Regions from separate parts of the Homo sapiens genome. Here all the other regions are linked to region 3. Evidence: promoter capture Hi-C in 16 types of primary human blood cells and fetal thymus (Javierre and others, 2016). All regions are on one chromosome and are shown on one strand. The core of a region is centred on a gene start or on the middle of the fragment in contact, and the rest is flanking DNA. Distances in the headings are between cores, read along the strand shown.

The links. Contacts are between HindIII fragments. The CHiCAGO score rates a contact against its expected background, and 5 or more counts as called.
Region 1: a contact is called between a fragment that was not itself captured here and the fragment with the promoter of ANGPTL1 in region 3, in 1 of 17 cell types (total B cells). The highest score is 5.7, in total B cells.
Region 2: a fragment that was not itself captured here is called in contact with the fragment with the promoter of ANGPTL1 in region 3 in 1 of 17 cell types (total B cells); the score reaches 5.5 in total B cells.

Annotation. Positions count from the first base shown.
Region 1 is chr1:178,905,391-178,909,371 of GRCh38, forward strand. RALGPS2 (Ral GEF with PH domain and SH3 binding motif 2) reads left to right here. Exons shown (of 20, transcript NM_152663.5): 19 at 1,386-1,477. Among named protein-coding and RNA genes, the nearest start is that of ANGPTL1, 36 kb to the left of the region's middle. The HindIII fragment of the contact is 482 bases long and covers 1,894-2,375 here.
Region 2 is chr1:178,828,439-178,832,484 of GRCh38, forward strand. The region is part of intron 7 of RALGPS2 (Ral GEF with PH domain and SH3 binding motif 2); the gene reads left to right. Among named protein-coding and RNA genes, the nearest start is that of ANGPTL1, 41 kb to the right of the region's middle. The HindIII fragment of the contact is 990 bases long and covers 1,584-2,573 here.
Region 3 is chr1:178,869,710-178,873,385 of GRCh38, forward strand. It overlaps ANGPTL1 (angiopoietin like 1), which reads right to left and starts at 1,368. Exons shown (of 6, transcript NM_004673.4): 1 at 1,032-1,368. The region is part of intron 8 of RALGPS2 (Ral GEF with PH domain and SH3 binding motif 2); the gene reads left to right. The HindIII fragment of the contact is 10,209 bases long and covers 1-3,676 here.

The DNA of each region.
Region 1 (3,981 bases), core at 885-3,384, 36 kb after region 3:
GAGGGGTGAGTATGTAAATTGTAGCTGTGGCCAGCTTTATTGTAGATATGGCTTTTTTTCACATTGACCTAATGTCTGTGTCTGAGTTCAGCAAGTGTAACGGTGTTACTTGACTAAACATTTGGTGAAGAAACAATTACTTCAGAAAGTGAAAAAGTTATTTTGAGTGTTAGAATCTCAAGGAAAAGCTGAATAATGCTTAAATATAGTTAGGCTCTTGAGCCATTGAATGCAGTTATTAAGGAAAGAATAGAATTCAGCACAAATTGTGAAATAAAAAGAACTTAGGTCAATGAAAAAAGGAAATAAAGCTTAATTTAGAGCAGCCTATAGTACATGGATCCTTTCTTTTCTCAATTTGTTTTCTCACCTTAATACATATAACCATTTAAAATATCCTCATTATATGTCAGTCTTGAATTAAAGTCAATATAGAAATTACAAAATACACACAGCACAAATGAATATCTAATTTCTTAAAAGAGAGAAAGTTGCCTCCTAGACTTTCCCCAAGAGCCCTCAACAGAACTGGAAATCTGTAATAATATTGACAAATATCTTGTAACTAAAGACTAAAAGCATAGTCTATCAATGTTATATGACTAATCCTTAATTATACTGAATAGCTAGTGTTTAAGTATTAAACATATTGAAGCATTCTGGCATGTTAAAACTTAACATTAACATCTACTAATATTTAGGCCAGGTGTGGGGGCTCATGCCTGCAATCCCAGCACTTTGGGAAGCCAAGGCAGGCACATCACTTGAGGTCAGGAGTTCGAGACCAGCCTAGCCAACATGGTGAAACCCCGTCTCTACTAAAAATACAAAAAACTTAGCTGGGCATGGTGGTGCACACCTGTAATCCCAGCTTATTGGGAGGCCGAGACACGAGAATCTCATAAAGCTGGGAGGCAGAGGTTGCAATGAGCTGAGATTGTGCCACTGCACTCCAGCCTGGGCGACAGAGCGAGACTCCATCTCAAAAAAAAAAAAATCTAATATTTAGATCATCTAAGTAGTAAGTATTCAGAACCAATATTCTGCAGTCTTATCCACACAGATCTAGAGATGCCACACAGTTATTTTATGTAGGTGTATTTCATTCTAAAGAATATTTAAGGAGACAAAATTATTTCTTCTAATTCATAAGCAGCAAAAGTGACTTTCTGAATATATGATAGCATGTAAATGTGTTGCATCGAGAACTCTTTATTGTATTGGAAATACAATAAAAATAGGAAATACAATAAAATGGAGGTGTTGAATAGAATTCTAAAACTGAAAACTCTAGTCATGTTTAATTTGCTCATTATTATCTGGCAGAATTATTATGTGTCGTCCTTACATTTTTAATATTTCCCCCTTATTTTGGATAATTTTAGGAAATTCGTACAAGTTTCAAGCTGGCAATAGAATGAATGCAATGTTATGGTTTAAGCATTTGAGTGCAGCCTGCCAAAGTAACAAACAACAGGTAAGCATTTCTCCTAATTCTCAGAATAGTCCATAATTTGGGAACATATGTAAAAGAGTTCCAAGAGAAGTAAACAGACTAGTTCTGAATTAACTAGGAGAATGGTGGTGTTTTTATTCTTGTTGATTACAGTTAATAAGATATGAAGGTCTACATCTTAGTGAGGAGCTAGACAGTAATCATGCAAACAAGTAACAAAATTTCGAACAGTCAGAACTATATAAAGAAAACAATAGACGTATGTGATATAGAGCAATGGGAGTACAGACAACTTTTGATAACATAAGGTTGGGCAGCAAAGATCTCCCTGAGGAGATGGTATTGACAAGAACCACAAGAAGGAACGAGCTATAAGAAGAGGAGAGCAGAGTGCTGTGTAAGGGAAGAGCAAGTGCAGGGAGCCTGAAGCTGGAACAAGCTTAAGGTGAGTTCAAAGCACAGAAAGGTAGCTAGTATAGTAGTCAGAGTATAGTTCTCTAAAGGGTAAAAATTAGATGGCATATTAAATTAATAAAAATTATTCGAATTCATCTTTATTTGATCTATTGACAATTTGATGTGGGTTTCTGTGGTGGTAGTGAAACCAAAAACCATTTAAATTTTGTTTGCTTTTATTTTACTGAAACAAAAATGGTCTAATTGAAAGGCTTTCAGCTGCAGAAGAGCAGGAATCCATTGTGTTGTTTTCCCCAAACCCTGTTGCACAGTTAGAGTTGAACCACAGATTGGTAGAGCAGACATAAAACACATAGCCACATTTATAGAAATTTATATAGACTTTTTGTAGAACCAGTTGTTTGTTAAATATATTTGAAAATCATTGACTTAGCATATTGATAATGCAGAAGTCTATGGTTAGCATTATCAGTAGGTAATATTGAATATGATGCACTATATAAGCTTAGAAAGCTTACAGAAGTATTTTTCACCCTGTCATATCAGGATGTAAGTTATTACCCTTTCTTGATAATTGAAACTAAGGCTCCATAATACAAAATGACCTACACAGGTCACACAAGTAAAAAATGGTGGATTCAAACTTTCTTCATCCTTTAAGTCCATTCTTTTTGTTTGTTTTTTGACTTTTGGGTTCAGAGGGTACTTGTGCAGGTTTGTTACATGGGTATATTGTGTGTCACTGAGGTTTGGTGTATAAATGATCCTGTCACCCAGTTAGTGAGCAGAGTACCCACTGGTTTTTCAACCGTCACCCCTCTCCCACCCTCCCCACTCTGGTAATGCTCAGTGTCGATTGTTCCCATCTTTGTGTCTAGGTGTATTCAATGTTTACCTCCCACTTACAAGTGAGAACATGCAGTATTTGGTTTTCTGTTCCTGGATTAATTCACTTAATGGTCTCCAGCTGCATTCATGTTGCTGCCAAGGGCATAATTTCACTGTTTTTTAAAAATCACTGTGTAGTATTCCATAGCATATATGTACCACATTTTCTTTATCCAATCCACTGTTGACAGGCACGTAGGTTGATTCCATGTCTTTGCTATAGTGTATACTGCTGGGATGAACATACATGTGTCTTTTTGGTAGAACAATTTATTTTCCTTTGGGTATATGCTCAGTAATGGGATTGCTGGGTTCAGTGGTAGTTCTGTTTCAAGATCTTTGAGAAATCTCCAAGCTGCTTTCCACAGTGGCTGAACTTACATTCCTACCAAGTGTATAAGCATTCCCTTTTCTCTGCAACCTTGCCAACATCTGTTATTTTTTGACTTAGCCATTCTGACTGGTGTGAGATGGTATCTCATTGCAATTTTGATTTGCATTTCTCTGGCAATTAGTGATATTGGCCGTTTTTCAAATGCTTGTTGGCCATGTGTATTTCTTCTCTTGAGAAGTGTCTGTTCATGTCCTTTGCCCACTTTTTAATGGGGTTGTTTTTTGCCTGTAAATTTAAGTTTCTTATAGATTCTAGATATTAGACCTTTTTCAGATACACAGTTTGAAAATATTTTCTCCCATTCTCTAGGAATGTTGGTTTATTCTGCTGATAGTTTCTTTTGCTCTGCAGAAGCTCTCTAATTAGGTCCTGTTTGTCAGTTTTTGTTTTTGTTGCAACTGCTTTTGGAGTCTTCATCATGAAGTCTTTGCCAGGGCCTGTGTCCAGAATGGTATATCCTAGGTTATCTTTCAGGGTTTTTATAGTTTTAGGTTTTGCATTTAAGTCTTTAATCCATCTTGAGTTGATTTTTGTATACAGTGTAAGGAAGGGGTCCAGTTTTAATCTTCTGTATATGGCTATCCAGTTATCCTAGCAGCATATTGAATAGGGAGCCTTTTCCCCATTGCTTGTTTTTGTCAGCTTTGTCAAAGATCAGATGGTAGTAGGTGTGAGGCATTATTTCTGGGCTCTCTATACTGTTCCATTGGTTCTATCCTGTTCCATTGGTATCTGTTTTTGTACCAGTACCATGCTATTTTTTGGTTACTGTAGTCTTGTAGTATAGTTTGAAGTCAGGTAGTGTGATGCCTTCAGCTTTGTTCTT
Region 2 (4,046 bases), core at 829-3,328, 41 kb before region 3:
TATTTAAACATGGAAACAGCACAGTAAAAAATACAGTATTATAATCTTATGGGACCACTGTTGTATATGCAGTTTGTTCTTGACTGACATGTCGTTTTGCAGCACATGACTGTATAAGGAACTCAGACAATGTGATAACAAGAAAACAACCCAATTAAAAAATGGGCAAAGGATCTGAATAGACATTTCTCAAAAGAAAACATACACAAGTCCCACAGGTATATCAAAAGGTGCTCAACATCGCTAATCATCAGGGCAGTGCAAATCAAAACCACATAATATATCATCTCACACCTGTTAGAATAGCTGTTATCAAAAAGCCAAAAGATAACTAACGAGTTTTGGTAAAGATGTGGAGAAAAGGGAACTGTTGTACAGTGTTGGTGGGAATGTAAATTGGTACAGTCATGGAAAACAGTATGGAGATTCCCCCAAAAATAATAATAGAACAATTATGTGATCCAGCAATCCCATTTCTGAGTATGTGTCCAGAGAAATTGAAATTGATATGTCAAAGAGATATCTGCACTCCTATGTTCGTTGCAGCATTATTCACAATAGCCAGGATATGGAACCAACCTAAATGTCCATCAGCAGATGAATGGATAAAGAAAATGTGGTTTATATACACAATGGAATACTATTCAGCCTTACATTTACAACAGCATGGATGAATTTGGAGATCATTATCCTCAGTGAAATAAGCTAGATACAGAAAGACAAATGCTACTGCACAATTTCACTTATCTGTGAAATCTTACCAGGCTGAACTCATAGAAGCAAAAAGTAGAAGGATGGTTGCTGAGGGGCAGGGGAAATGTTGGGTCAGTAGGTACAAAGTTTCAGTTATGTAGAACAGGGGTCCCCAAACCCCGGGCTGCTGACCAGTGCTGGTCCATGGCCTGTTAGGAACCAGGCCACAGCAGGAGGTGGGCAGCAGGCAAGTGAGCATTACGGCATGAGGTCCATCTCCTGTCAAATCAGTGGCAGCATTAGATTCTCATAGGTACATGAACCCTATTGTGAACTCCGCATGTGAAGGATCTAGGTTGTGTGCTCCTTATGAGAATCTAATGCCTGATGATCTGAGGTGGAACAGTTTCATCCCAAAACCTTTCCCCATTCATGTTCATGGAAAAATTGTCGCTGGTGCCAAAAAGGTTAGGGACCACTAATGGAGAGAGAATAAGTTCTGGAGATCTAATGTACAGCATGAGGACTATAGTTGACTATAGTTAATAAGACTATGTTGTATACTTGAACTTTTCTGAGAGAGTGGATCTTTTTAAATTTTATTTATTATTTATTTATTTTTATTTTTTTTGAGATGGAGTCTCGCTCTATCACCCAGGCTGTAGCGCAGTGGCACAATCTTGGCTCACTGCAATCTCCACTTCCCAGGCTCAAGTGATTCTCCTGCCTCAGCCTCCTGAGTAGCTGGGATTACAGGCGCCCACCATTTTGCCCAGCTAATTTTTATATTTTTAGTAGAGATGGCGTTTTGCCTTGTTGGCCAGGCTGGTCTCGAACTCCTGACCTCAAGTGATCTGCCTGCCTTGGCCTCCCAAAGTGCTAGGATTACAAGCTTGAGCCACCGTGTCCAGCCTAAAAGAGTGAATCTTAAATGTTCTTACCATACAAATACATAAGAAGTAACTAACTTTGTGAGATGATGGATATGTTAATTAGCTTGATAGCTTGATAATAATTTCATTATATATGTGTATTAAAACATGTACACCTCAAGTATATGCAATTTAAATTTGTCAGTTATACCCCAGTACTGCTGGTGGAAGATTGATTGTAAAATTTATATGGAAATTTAAAGGTTCAGGAATAGCTAAAGAAGACAATGGGAATTGGGGAGATAAGCACTTGGCCTAACAGATGTCAGGATATACTAGATTCTTGGACAGTGTATGATTCCTGCAGTTTTAGACATATCTACCAATGAAACAGAATGAAGAACCCAGAAATACCTCCTTGTTTTTACAGGATTCTGATACGTGTATGACAGAGGTGGCATTGTAAGTTGGTAAAGAAATGAGGGGCTGTTTATTAATTGGAGCTGCAAAATTGGTCACCAGTTTGGGGGAAAAAATGAAATCAGGCCCCTTGCGCCATTCACAAAAATCCTTGTGAGATGACTCAAGGGCTTAAATGTGAAATGAAAAACTTCAGTTTTTTAGAAGGAAAAATATATGTGAATATCTCTCTGGTTTGGCATGAATAGATTTCTGGCTTTGGATAAGTAAGGATTTTTTAGATAAGATACAGAAAGCTCCAACAATGAAAAAAATAATAATAAATTTTGTCATGTTAGAGTAAGAATTTCTGTTCATCAAAAGATACCTTAAAATGGAAAAGAGGATGCAGTGGGCGGAAGATATGTGCAACAGTTAGTTGTCCAACTAGAATGTGTCCAACACAAGAATTTGCATCCAGAACTCTTAACAACGAAAAAAGAAAAAAAATAGAAAAATTAACATTATAAATGTATTTTGTAGAGGAGAGGATACACATAGAAGCAGTGAAAATGAATGAACTATAGCTTCCCACAACTTCATGGATGAAGCTTTAATATCACAATGTTATATGAACAAAGTAATTGCCAAAGACTAAAAATGAAATAAAAGTTAAAATGGAATAAAATTTGCCAAAAATGAAATAAAATTTGAGGGGAATGATAAACAGAACATTCAGAGTAGTGGTTACTGGTTACCTCTTAAAGGCAGTCAAGGCAATTGGATGGAAGATGAGTCATGTGTGTTCGTTATAAAGTTTAAATCCATTTAACAAAGCCATACCAGGCTCTAATGATAATTGAGTGTCACAAACAAAAGATTATAATTAATCTGCACCCCGGGTCTAAGATAAAGTATTCATTTATGCAGTTGCACACATTCACACATATTGTGTGAAGATACAAACCAAGGTGATGAGGAATAATCTGGGAGTTTGTGTTTCCTGGGGTGACTGACATGAGCGGGCATTCATCTAGGTTTTCCCCCAAAACAGATTGTGGTGGTAAGGTGGTGTTAGATATCTGGTCAGGAACATCTAGAATTCTGTGGGTCTCCTCTTTCATTAATATCAATGAAAGTGTGAAGAGGCTTGCCCCCATTTGTCATGCTCTTGGTGCCAAGGACATGTAGAAGTAGAACACTGTGAAGTATTTTGTCCGCCCCGCCCCCCCCACCCCCAGCGGTTTTTGGAGGGGAAAATACAGTAAAGAGACTTTTTAAATATAACATTATAAATATCAAAAGAAGATTTGAAAAGAAGAAAGAAAAGGCTTCTCAGTTAATAGAGCTTCTGAGCTATCATTCAGGAAATACCTATATTAACATCTAATTAGTTCTTTATATTCATATTCTTCCTCTAGTCTTCTGGAAACAAGTCTCTCCTACCACAACTCAGATTGAATTCTATTTATCTGATTATTGATTTATTATGAAAATTACAAAATCATGTTATAGTTTGTTATAACAGTTCTGTGTTTCAGCTGTGGCAAGATTAGTTACGAGTTCTAAGTAATTTGTTTCTCCTGGTATTGTACCAAAGTTTTTGAATGATTGACTTAGGGGAAAATAAAGAGCAGGTTTATCATTATCCCTATGTCACATAACTATATTTTGCATATCCAGATACTTCCTTAAGTGGTAAAGAGTTAGATATACAGGCAGCAAGCAAACATTTGCACCTAATCTTGAGATTACTAATCAAGTATCTTGAAAGTGGAGTAAGAGAAAATTGTAAAACCGCTGTTTTAGACCATGGAATATCCATCTAAAACATTAAAGCAAAGGACCCCTTGACGTTGTATTTTAAAGAGGGAGCGATACTGTTGAGACATTTTTCTAATAGAGATTTTCTGAAGATAGTCTGCATCTTTGAGCCTCTGAACAATAGATCCCAACTGTACTACTTATAATACTAGAAAGAGTAGTGGATTAGGTGTCAGAATATTCTTATCTCCAGAACCAGACTATAAGATCCTGAAAAACAAGGACATACATCTTTGTGAGTGAGTGGGTAACAGAGAG
Region 3 (3,676 bases), core at 118-2,617:
AGCTTTACCATTATTTGCTTGTTCAAGATTCTTAACCATTAATATCTTTAATTTTTACAAGGCTAAAGGAGCCCCAAATCTAACAAACTTAAGTGTCTTTGGTTTAAGGCATACTATTGGTAACGAGTAATTTTATCTTTAATAGTTTTTATAATGCATGTAAAAAAAGCTCCCAGATAGAATATTGAAGGAAACCTCTTATGTGTGCTTAACAAAATTATTTCTACCTAAAATATTACATATTTTTGGCCTTTTAGTCATGAATTTAATTACATCTTCTGGGTTCTTATTTTCTATTGTTAATACCACTTACATAATGCTTTTGTGTGTATATCAATAACTTAGCTTTTCCAAGTGATTCCATTTGTAGCAAGTTTAATTTCTGTCATCCAAATTAAATTACTATTACATGTAAGCCTGGAAAGCTATTTAAAATTTTGAGTTGGAACAAGAAATGCCATAGATTAATCTTAAATCTGTACAAGAATTTCTGCTTAATATTTGGTTATACTGTAATTGAGATTTTGTTGCAAAGACTTTCAACTATTTTTGTATCTTAGCTTTGTTTTATGACTACACTGAGAAATCCAACAGTTTATGTATATCTTCAGCACACACACTGTGGCTGCAGGAAGAGAAACTAATTGTGTTCACGACTATTTAGTTTGTATTCCTTTGTTTTTAATCATTGTGCTGTAAGCCTTATACATTTAATCTGTTACTTGTTAAAATTTCTTTCTACTGTCACTAAAGCACTTGTTTTCAGAAACCCAGCATGGCATGCATGTATCAGTCTGTAATCATATACACTAAACATCATTAAATTGAACCTCAAATAATGCATTAACCATTGCACAGTACTTAATGTTTTTATGTCAAGTTGCAAGATAAAACCTTTTTCAGATGAGATAAACTGTAGTATATTCCAAAGGTCTTTGTTTAGTAAAAGATTCTGAAATTTCTACTACAAATATAAAATAGTTATGCATTTGCTATACATAATATTTTTAAATAAAAGAAATATTAAATACCTTTTTGTGTCTGTTGATTCAGTGAATCCAGAAACTTGCTGCCCTTATTCTTGATTTTAAAAATCAGTGTAGAAGTTTGTTCATCTGTGACTTTAATGGCAGCTGCATTTTTGTTTTGGACCGTTGAATCCAAGCTGTAAGAAGGAACTTCTTTTTCCTTTTACAATACTAATCAATTGAATTTGACAAGCCACCTATGTAATTTTAAGTAGTATAGTGGAAGTTCTGGTCTGTGGGCCGTCTTTAATCCAGCAGAGAAAGCGTTGTGGCTTTGCTCTGTCTGCCACATGGAGAAATGCAGTAACCAGCTGCAGCTGACCCAGATTGTATATACAGTACCCCTGAATAGTGATTCCCTCTTTCTCAGTAGACTCAAGTTCAGCCCACATATTACATCACCAAAAATTGCTGGAGACTGGGGGCGGGAATCTCCTTAGGATTTCCTCTTTGTAGCCTTAAATAGGGGGGTGGGATCAGCAGGAGGTTGAATAGTTTTGAACAAGGAGAGATTGTGTGCAGGTTGAAGGAAGGGCACCATCTGGAAACAAACTATCATAGTTCAGCGGGCAATTATAAAACAAACATTTTAGTCTGCTGGCCAGAGATCTTTTAAGTTGAATACCGAAAAAAAAAATAGTGCTCCACTTCACTTAGAAGTAGTTGCAGGCTGATGAGTTTGGTTTTTGTTAACAAAGAACAAGAGCTAGACTTTGTCAGGAGGCAGCCACCTAAATAATGTAATAAATACTCTTTATAGCCTAGAAGAATTTGTAAACATTTTACTAAGTTGCTAATGAAGGTTTTAAACTTACAAGAAACTTGATGTTGTTGTAGTATGTTATGTCTTACTGTGTAATGTGTCTTAAGATAAAACAGCCTTTATATATAATTACCAAACATAAGTGAAATTCTTTCAGATGCTTAAGACTTTTAAATATTACATTCTGGTGTTACATAATGTCATATCCTCCTATTCTACAAAATGACCTCTCCTCTCTGTAAAAGGTCATTCTTGTTATTAATTGATGTGGTGTGGTTTAAAAACAAACATAACCCTGAACTGAGTAAAAAACAAGGAAGCTCTGACTCTATGCCAGCTATGTGAACTTAGACAAATCACTTTACCTGCCTCTGGCAAGGTTCTTCTGCTATGAAATAAGGTGGTGGAAGAAATGAATAAGTGTTGAGTACAACTATACTATTGTATTTCATTAATTGAAGAAATGTTAAATAACTCAGTAGCTGAAGAAACACAAACTTAGGCTTAAGTAACTTAGCTTAGCACTTAAGTACTAAGTAGTGGAACTGGGATTTGAATCTAATGCCAAAGCATTATGCCACACTCTCTGTCATTGATTACCTAGTTGCTGTAAGCTGCTTCTAGATAAAACTTTTGGGCTTTCTCTACATACCTGTGCTTTCCCTTCCTTATTGCTGTAGCTTGTGCTGTGTTTCTCTTTCTGTTAGGCCACACTGTTGATCCACATCCTTTATTTAAAGTCTGAGCTTATTTTCTACCTCTTTCACAGAATCATTTATTTGAATTCCTATGCCATATATAGGTATACCAGAGGTTGCAAACACAAGGGCCTAGAAAGGCAAATGCTCACAAGAAGAATGGAGCAGGTAATATAAATCAGTGAAGTAAATCAGTAGTAAGATACTGGAGGGAAATGAAGTTTATGGCAAGTTGGCATCCTTTTGGTTAATTTAAAGGGATCTGCCTGCACCTTCTCAGCTGTGCTTGTGGCCATGAAGGATTATGAGACAGTGTTGCCAGATCTTCCCATTATTCAGGAAAAAAGAGCCATTTAGATTTTTCCTGTAATACTTCCTGATTTTAAAAAACATTGGGACAGATGTGCTGCCAGCTTCTGGCCTCTGATTTGTATTATGTATCGTTTCTTGAGCATTCAGTAATTATGTTGTAGTCACTAATGGCTTAAATCTGGGAAAAATAAGAGATAATAAATTCTTTCTGAGCTTTTAAACTTTCAGCAGTTTGGAGCTTTCTAACTTGAGCACTTAGTAATATCACTAGCCAGGGTAGGAAATTGGAATGACAGGTATTTAGGGACAGATTATGGTTAGATATGTTAAATTGAAAATGAAAGTCAGGAGCTCAGTTATATGGAGAGATTTGAAAGTCACCAGCAATTAGGTAGTAGCTAAAGCTATGGAACTAAGATACTAGAGAAAGTACATGTAGAATGTAAAGGAAGGTTAATGACAGACCATGATACCAATTTCCAGGAAACCAGCTTACAAGAAACATGAGGAAAAAGAAGAATGGTGGGGGCTTAGGGGGAAGATACGAAAGTTCAAGGTAGGGAAAACCTGAGAACTAGACGAGAATGGTTACAATACTGCAGAGACATTACATAGGGAGGGGAGACCAAGAGAGATGTTTTAAGACTTAGAATGAGAAAGTTATTAATGCCATTGCCAAAATAAGTGATACATACAGATTTCAGATTATTTAGTGTGTTGAAGGGTGACTAGATAAAATTTAACTGACAAATTAGTGTCCACAATACATTAAGAAATTAGAAATCCATAAGAAAAAGACAACCCAAAAGAAAAAATGAACAGAAACATTTATTACATAGAAATATATACGTTTAACCTTATTACTAATCAAGGAA